Linked DNA regions of Homo sapiens: region 1 is linked to region 2. The links are contacts of gene promoters, found by promoter capture Hi-C in human tissues and cell types (Jung and others, 2019). All regions are on one chromosome and are shown on one strand. Each heading gives the region's core, a stretch centred on a gene start or on the middle of the fragment in contact. The rest is flanking DNA. Distances are from core to core; before and after follow the strand shown. Region 1 overlaps RNF180 (ring finger protein 180). Region 2 holds the start of RNF180 (ring finger protein 180).

Region 1 (4,822 bases), core at 1,083-3,582, 41 kb before region 2:
AATAGATTATCAATGTCAAAGTAAGTTAATGGCACTCAGCCTATCAATATTTATTTAGTGATTACTAAACACAGTGTTGACCACACAAAGCATGTAGAGACATACTTATTAATATGCCAGGGACTGTGTTGCATAAAGGTACATCTATTATTTGTATTAATGTATTAATATTTCACTGTCCTACTTCTTATTTTACTATGTACATTTCATTATTTCATTTAATCATATAAATTGATCATTTTTTAATCACATAGCATTGATCATAACACGAAAAAACCACTACCCACTATAAATTTTGGAAATGCTTTATGAATACTCCTATGAGAATAAACACTGGAGTCACAGTTGTAGGTAGAAGAAAGTTTTACAATGTACTTATTCTTTTTATTTTCACTAAATAACAAATATTTATATTGTGCTCACTATGCACAGGCACCGTTTTAAGAGTTTTTACTGTCTTACAGATAAGAACACTGAAACAAGCGATCCCAAGCTTCCACATTGCCTCTTATGCCATATAAAATACTATAGTTTTTAGGGCAATAAACTTTCTTATATCTCTAGCCTGTGTATGCTTTAAGGTATGATACTGCTATTCTTCTCTAACGCTTATAAAACTAAAACTGAAGCATATCTTATTTTTAAATTAACTAAAATAAATTTATGTAGGGAGAGGTATGTTTAGAAAAAATTCCACAGCTGATTCTCCTTTTGTACCCCTCAACCCAACCTCCTTCATTTGAGAAAAAATAATATAAAACAGCATATATTTTTTTCTTTTAAATAGCTAAAATTTAAAGTATACCTTCATCTCCTCACAACCAAAAAGAGAGGAATAGCAATTCATACAGGTAGGAAAGCATAAAAAGCTGGGTTGAATTTATAGCATTGTTTCGTTTTCTGAAAACTTTACACATGGACCAGGGTAAACACAGACACCTCAACTATAAATGAAACTGCCAACTACTTTCACCTGTATTTACCAACACAGTCTTAGAAAAAATACATTTTTATTTGTAATATTTATTTCCAATATAATTCTACAAGTAAAGAGGATGTATCAACTATTAAGTTTTAAGTCAGTTAATTTTTTAAAATCACACAAATATATAAATGATAAAACAAGTTTTGATGGACATATTTTAAGATGAGTGATGAAACTGGAGGCAACCCAATTTTAGGAATTTAAAGCCATCAAAGTATTAGCACAACAAGTTATCTCCTCGGGAAAAATTTGACTGAAAATTAGAACTGTTTTACCAGGATTGTAAAAAAATTACTAAACAGATTTTCTTTCTGTCTCAAATCTCCCACACGGAGGAAGGAGGAAGGAAAAGGAGGAGAAAGTAATAGCAATTTCATGTAATAATGTCAGAAAAATGTTGACAACATTATGTTTGTAAATGAAATAATTTGTTCAAGCAGCAGAGGGAGCCAATGTATTATTTTAATTTTTTCTTTAAGTGTTGGGAATATTCTCAGTTTCTATAACAGAAAAATATCACTTAATTTTAAAATTACAAATTTGATGCCTTATTTTTTATCATTATGTGATCTTTAATATTTTTAATTAAGTGTAACAAGTTACATGTAAAAAGTTGATAATATTATTACATAATATTTTGGAAGATGTTTAACCCTTTGCATTTCCAAAGTAAGCAATAACATTCCTTCAGCTAATTCTTTAAATGTGAGCCAACTATATTATTTGACTACCGCAGCTAACACCACAGGGAAAAGACTATGTAACAAAAATGTCATTTAAATTAACATTATTAATTGTCTAAAGTGTCACAAATGTAAAGGAACCACAATTCTATTGGACTGCCTAGTTTGTCTATTTGTACTTTGAGAAGGTACTTTAAGGGTAAAAACTTTTTATAATCAAAAGGTCACAATGAATTGAAAAAAATGAAAGCCTCACTTAAAAAACAAACAGGCTCCCTGCCTCAATTCTTGGTACCTTTCTAATTCACTCTTCACACTATTACCAAAATAATCTTAAAATTCAAAAGTCATGTTACTTCCTCCCACTGACTTGCCAGCTCCTACGATAAAGATCAAAGTCTTTGACTTACAAGACCATACATGATTTGAACAACACCCAACTTTCTACTCTCAGATCTTGCCAAACTCCCTCTTCATCTCTGAACTCCAATAGTGGCAATCTATTTTAGTTCCGGAGATCCACCACAGGGCCTTTGAACACGCTGGTCCTGAATCTTGGAATGTTCTCCCACCTGTACTGTCCTCACTTATCCATCATATCTCTACACAGGTCACTTCCTCAGAAAAGCCTTACAGCTAGGTCCAGCATTCTATCTATATCCTACTCTTATGGCTTCCTATACTTTTCCTTTTTGCCACTTAAACAGCTAATAATTTATATCTATATGAGTAATCAATATTTAATATTTACATAACTGGTCAATATTATAAATATTAAATTATTTCACTATTAAGTTATAAATATCAAACTTTTAATATGATTATAATATAATTAGAATACATTTATAATTGTTATAATATTAATAGAAGATTAAATGATAAATCCTGAAAACTTCATAAGGACATACCATTTCTCTTCTGCTCATCTTTGAGTTTCCAGTTCCTATTACAGGACGTGTGTGGTCTTAGTCTGCTTGGGATGCCATCACAAAATACCAGAGACTGAATGACTTAAACAATAGCAACTTATTTTCTCTCAGTTCTAGAGGCTGAAGGTTTGAGATCAGGGTGCCAGCATGTTCTGGCTCTGGCGAGGGCTCTCTTTCTAGCCTGCAGGTGGCTGCTTACTCACTGTGTCCTCACAGGATCTCTTTCTCTTTTCTTCCTTTTATAGAGCCACAGTCCTATTGGATTAAGGCCCCATCTTTATGCTCTCATTTAACCTTCATTAACTCCTAAAGACCCTATCTCCAGATATAGTCACACTGCACCTTTAAAATATGCACTTGGAGGGCATACAATTCAGTCCATAGCATAGCATGTGCTAAGACTAGTATGGAACAAATATACGGTATCACTAAGAAGAGCGAACACAAAGTATTAAAAATGTAATAAGCATAAAAATATTTATTTCAGTATTACAGCCATTGAAGGAAAAATACCACCAGAATAATAAAGCCAGAGAGAAAATAAGCAAATTATCTAACCAAAAAACATGAGGGAGGAGGTATATACTCTAATAATCAATTCAACATTCATCAGTCCTATTCATGTCAGCCACTGCATTGGCAATGGTGTTATACAGATGAAATACTTCATAGCCTGGTGATGGAAGAAGTCATAACCTAATAATTAAAGTGTTTTATTGTAAGTGTTTGACCATCCCTCAGCTCCCAATTATCTGAACCCAGTAGAATTTGGTAACTGCCCCTAAAAGTCTCATAACTACAATGAATGTTGACCAACGATTTCTTTTAAAACCAATGGACACTTTTAACTCTCATTTAGGGTCTTTACATATGGATATATAGTTTGTATGCTAACTGCACAAATCCAGGGCAAACCTTTCACAAACTAGCTCCCTCTAGAATTGTGCAGTATACAATCTGCACACTGAAGGAAATGTCTGATCTTCTAGATCTCATTTAACATTTAACACGAATCATCAACACTTTTTTTTTCCTAGAGAATGTTCGTCCCTTGACTTCCATAATATTGTATCCTAATTTTCGGTTCTATTTTTTCACTCTTTTTCTTCTCCTTTGTGGAGCTTCTCTTTTTCTGTCTATCCTGTAAGTGTTCCTATATGATAGTAACTACTGCTCTCTCCTATTTTCGGTTCTATTTTTTTCACTCTTTTTTTTTCTCCTTTGTGAGAGCTTCTCTTTTTCTGTCTATCCTATAAATGTTCCTGTATGATAGGAACTACTTAACTCTCACTCCATTCATACACTGCATGGTAATCTCATCTACTCTCACAGCTTCACCTAAAACTTATATGCTGATGATCCACAGTTTTAGTTCAGATCTCTCTTCTGAATCCCACATCCATAGAACCGAGCAGCCTCCTAAAATATTTGAATATTCTACAGGCCACATAAACTTCACATGTCCAAAACCATAACAAAACTAACTAAAACTAAGGACGCCACTCCCTAACACAGATTGCACAAATGGAGACCATTTCTGTTATTTTATTTCTACATCTTTAGGGTCTTTGTTGCTGTTATTTTGTTTTTGGTTTTTGCCCACATTTCATCTATCTCAGGTCTGGATGCAAGGTCGAAGTCCCCCTTTCTCCTTGTGGACGTTGTAGATTGTCTGAAAACTCCATTCTAAATTGCCTTTCTCATGTCTTACAGCATGCCAGTGGCTGGATAACTAAAGCTCAAATATCCCAGTTTCCCTTACAATTCAAATTCCACACCAAGCTAACTTTGACAAACCTGATACACCCACACAACATTACAAAAGCAGAACTGATGGCTGCATTTGTACTGTTTCTTGTGGCAAATTTGGTTTTGGAGGTACATGATTATTCTGCAGCAAACATCACAGCAATTCTAGTGTCCAGTTCCTAGCTTTGGGAGGGCTGAGACAAAGAATGTGAGACTTCCATTTCCTGGCAATGGTCAGGGCTAAAGAAGGCAATTGGTCCTGGAGTCAACAGCTATTGATGTTGTTTCCCCAGTTTCCTTATTCTCTATGTTGTTCTGAGAGCCATTTCATGTCTGCATGCGGAAGACAGGAGATACAGCCCAGGGCACCCTCAGGATGGAAAGAACCTAAGGAGAAACTCCCTACATAAAGCTGATTATAACCTCAGTATGAGGGTAAATGAGAAACCTGTTTCTCAGAGGGCACACAAGGAAAC
Region 2 (4,578 bases), core at 2,073-4,572:
AGTGCCACATAATCAGTCTGAAACTGTAAGGAACTAGTTCAAAGACCAAACTAGTTTTTCCTGAAAACAGGAGATTTGCTGCAACAGGAAAGGGCTTAGTAAACCTAAGCTGGCATAAGTAGCCCCTTCTGCTTTAACACTTAAAAGTAACCTTAAGTAATCTGATGTTAACCAACAGACTTTTAAAAATACTCTGTTTCCTTGTTTCCACCTTACAAAAACCAACTATTCTGCCATGCCTAGGGCATGGCATTCTATTTTATGGAATGAGATGCTACCCAATTTCAGAATTGCTAATAAAAGCCAATTTGATATTTAAACTAAATTTGTCGAAATTTTTTCTTTTGACATCGGTGTGGTCAGGAAAGTCTGTTGCACACACAACTTGTTAATAACTTTTTTTTTGGAAATAGCAATTTTATATTTTGAGGCTATATTGCCTTGGCTGTATTACACTCAAAACATACAATATGGAGCCACATTTTATTATTCAAAATTGTTACAAAGATTTAAATTTAAATTTATGTGACATTCAAACTTCTCTATGAAATACACTCCCAATCTAACATTGTTCCAGTATGATGTGATCTACTTAATGTACTCTATTTAATATGTAAGTAAAATATCTGATTTCTAAGAAATCAATGTGATGAAAAGAGATAATTGATAGGTTACAACAGAGATTACATGCAAATGTGCACATACACACAGAACTTCAGCCTACAAGTAAGCACTGTCCCCTTTGTAGTAGACTTCTGGGAAGGTTGCAAATTCTAACAATGTCTGTCATTATTTTAAACTATTTTTAAACTGCCCTTTTAAAACTGCCTTCGTAGCCATCAGGACAATCCTTTAAATATCCTTAATAGTGGTAAAATCTTGAAGGTAGAACTGAGTTTTACAACCATGTAGAAATCATTCTGCCAAATTTAGCAAAGAAAATAGGTACTCAAGCTGAATTAGTTTTTTGATTAAAAAATAGAAACAAAAACAAGTGTTTATGAATGTTATCATGAAATGTTTTTATTTTGCTTGTAAATTGACTAGAAATTTCAAAAAATACAAAATAATTATGAATGGCAGCAGCACTACTGGAATAAGTTTTTAGCCTCCTGAGGTGACTACTTGGAATGACCACTCTCTAAAAATATAAACGACAGCACGTTTAAGGAGGGAAAATGTTTCAAGACTCTGCAATCACATTTCAAAGTTACAAAGCTGCTTTCTTCCGTGGAGTTCAAACTACTTTCGAGATATTACTTCATTAATTCCCCAAATATCCCTATGAAGGAAAGGACACATCACCATTCTTTTTTCAGATGGCCAAATGGAGGTGGTATAAGGGAGAGAGAACTGTGTTTATTCCATGAAAGCAACAATTAAGTCTAAGCACACTGTCCCCTTGTACTATGTAGTTAGCAAAATTTAAGCGAAATTTTTAATCTTTATGCTCCTTAATGAAAAAGACATTGTAAGAGTAAAAAGCATTATCATTCAGGTAGCTATGTCATATTACAGAAATATATTAAAATGATTAATTTATTGCATTCTTGCCTGGAAGAATTCCTGCTTCATGTATGAGGTGCTTATTAAAGAGGCTGGTGTCGGTCCTCAGACACACTCAAAAAAGTGCTAATTAAGTCTATTTTATCAAGAAAGAAATCTTGTTGATTTTTTCAATATTATTTTTTGAATTTTCGAAGAAAAAATCTTCACTTTGAAAAACCAAACACACAAAAAATGAAAGAGAGGAAGAAAAATGGGGTAATAAAATACCATTGACAAAACTAAGAGCAAACCCTAGGGAAACTGGTAAATTGTTGATGGTTCCAGAGAGATAAAGTACAACATAACACGTACACAATTACGAGATAATTTTTCATTACAATAATTAAAATGACTATTCTCCTAAATTTTTGATTCTTTATGAGAAAAAACTTACTCAAATATTCCGGGAAACCTAACAGCTCGCCTCCTCGATTCTACTTATTAAATAAATATTTAGAGTTTCTGCCATTGTCACCAAAGTATCTTTGGGCTGCCAGTGGCACTACATTTATACAAGAGACGAAAGTCTGACAGATAAAAGACAACGGAATTTTACTTCTTTCTACGACTCAAATGATACCACTCATTTGAAACTGAAGTGTTTATGATCTTTCAAGTATCACTTTTAGGGGTACTATAACAGGAGTCTGAAAGGAATTGACTCTATTTTTTAAGAAAGGTTTTAACAATTAATGAGTATATAAAAATACAATGAGCATCAGACCGTCCATCTTTGAGAGCTAAATTTTGTTTGAGACTAAGAGACCAACTGGACCAAGGACAACTCTAGTCAGACAAGTTCTAATCACAGATTCCACAAGGATTGACTGCTTAGTTTTGATATAATCACTTTGCCTCTTGGGTGCCTCAGCTGTCTGGTCTATAAAATGGGATAATAGTAACCCGACCGCATAATGCTCCTTTGAAGTTAACTAATGAATGCTCTCACAGATACACTTACAACTGTTAGATGCTACGAAAATAATGAGCACTATCTCGAAAAAAAACAAGGTGGAATATATGTGTTAGTGTTCATAACAGCACTAGTAATTTCCCACCAAAGGACCATCTCCCCACCTCCGCCCGATGGATTTCAGAGCTTATGACCTCTGCCTAGCAGAAAGTCGTACACTCCGGACCCAAGGCTGCAACAAAAGCGACTGCGACGCCGATACTGAAATGGGCTAGACAAAGGAAAGTGGAACCGTGCAGAGGGAATCGGCCGTGGAAGGGGCTGTGTGGTCCCCACAAGCTCCGAAATTAAACAAGACGCAGTTCCCCACCTCAGACCTGGAGAGGGTTCAGTACTGGACCCCTGGCACCCACCCCACCTTCCCCGGCCTCCTCCGCCACACCTACAGCGCCTCGCCTCCAGGACTCAGCTTTTTCGACCCTGTGTAATTCCAACCTCCAGGTGGGCGCGCCCCGAGGCCGCTCCGAGAGCCTCAGGTGCGAAAGTTAAGCCGCGGCCGCGTCACCTGAGGCCCGCCGGGCGAGAGGCGGCCAGGCCAGCGGCAACCCTAGCCCAGCCCCTTGGCACGTCCCCGCCTGGGCCAACGTGGGGGCCCGGGCCACCGCGGCTGGGTAGGGCCCGGCCGAGGCCAGGTCCCTCCGAGAGGCGCCGCCGCCGCGCCCCGCCCGACTCCGACCCGCCGGCCTTTACCTGTATCCACGTCCCGGAGCCTCCGGCTTCGCGCCCCGTCCCGGCGCTCCCGGCCGCCAGCAGCCAGGCTCTGAGGACTCGCTGCGGCTCCGGCGGCGGCGATGCCGGTTCGGCGAGACGGGAAGCGACAGGAGCCAAACCCCGCGGAAAGCGCTCGAGCTGTGCCTGCAGCCCCGACCCCGCGGCCTCGGACGTGGCGCCCCGGCGCTCGCCCGCCACAGCCAGCGGCCCTGCTCGCCCCACGTCTGCGGGTTCCCACCCGAGCCGCGCGTGGGCGGCGCCGGGCTTTGACCCCGCGCAGGCAGACAAGCGCCGCGGGCCAGACGGAACCGTGGGAAAGTTTTTCTCCCTTGTCATCCCCTTACCAGAGCCACAGAAATTATCCCTGTGGTCTCCCTTGTCCTCACTCGGCCTTTTCTGGAGTTAAGAGATCCAAGCCAACTACTGGGTCTGTTCCCTGCTAAAATCTTAGGCCGGCGTCCCATCCACCCATCCCCATGCCTAGGACTTTTAAGCTGGCAACGCTACCTGGGTTTAGTTTTCCCTTCGTATATCACTATCTTCGTTGCTTACCTTCTTGTGCCTAAAGTTCCACCGATGTGCAAGGAGATTAACCACTAAAGTGCACCTGACACTACTCTTGACAAATTGCAGTTGGGAGGTGAGTTGATGACTGGCGGTAAATCAAAAGTGCTTATTTAGGGAGTGAGGGGGCCGCGTGCAGTAAATGTTGACTTGCAGGTGCCTCATAGATGATCAAACGACTATAAATAAGATTCGGAATATAAAAAGCAAGTTTTATTAGTTGGCTTGAGGAGAGGGAAGGGAGCTAGGAGGGAACCTCAAAAAAAATATACAGCTTTGTTTCTCTGCTAGATACAGAAATTTTTATTTGCCTGAAGTGGCTTACTTGGAAACTTGTCCTAAGATTAGGGCTGTATGCAGTGACTTCCCATCTGGAAATACAAGGAAATAAAGAACAAAATGAAAGACATCACGAGAAAACTACAGACCAATATACCTTATGCATAGTAACATAAAAATCCTCAACAAAATACTAGCAAGCCAAACCCAGCAACATTTTAAAAAATTATACAACATGACCAAGTAGGATTTATCTCAGGAATGCAAGTTTGGTGTGACATACAAAATTAATGTAACACACTACTTTAAATAGACTAAATGTAAAAACCACATGATCATCTCAAAAGATGAAGGAAAAGCAATTGACAAAATCTAACACCCTTTCTTGATATAAACACTTCAACTAGGAATAAAAGGAAACTTCTTCAACCTAATAAAGAGCCTCTGAAAAATCCATAATTAACATCATACTTAATCTTGAAAGAATGAACATTTTCACCTAA

The links. The method cuts DNA at HindIII sites, captures the fragments that hold promoters and counts their contacts. A contact is called where the count stands out against the background at its distance.
Region 1: a contact is called between a fragment that was not itself captured here and the fragment with the promoter of RNF180 in region 2, in 3 of the 25 tissues and cell types used here (heart right ventricle, hippocampus and thymus).

What each region holds. Positions count from the first base shown.
Region 1 is chr5:64,204,784-64,209,605 of GRCh38, reverse strand. The region is part of intron 2 of RNF180 (ring finger protein 180); the gene reads right to left. Among named protein-coding and RNA genes, the nearest start is that of RNF180, 41 kb to the right of the region's middle. The HindIII fragment of the contact is 5,932 bases long and covers 1-4,822 here.
Region 2 is chr5:64,164,587-64,169,164 of GRCh38, reverse strand. It overlaps RNF180 (ring finger protein 180), which reads right to left and starts at 3,322. Exons shown (of 8, transcript NM_001113561.2): 1 at 3,212-3,322. The HindIII fragment of the contact is 11,374 bases long and covers 1-4,578 here.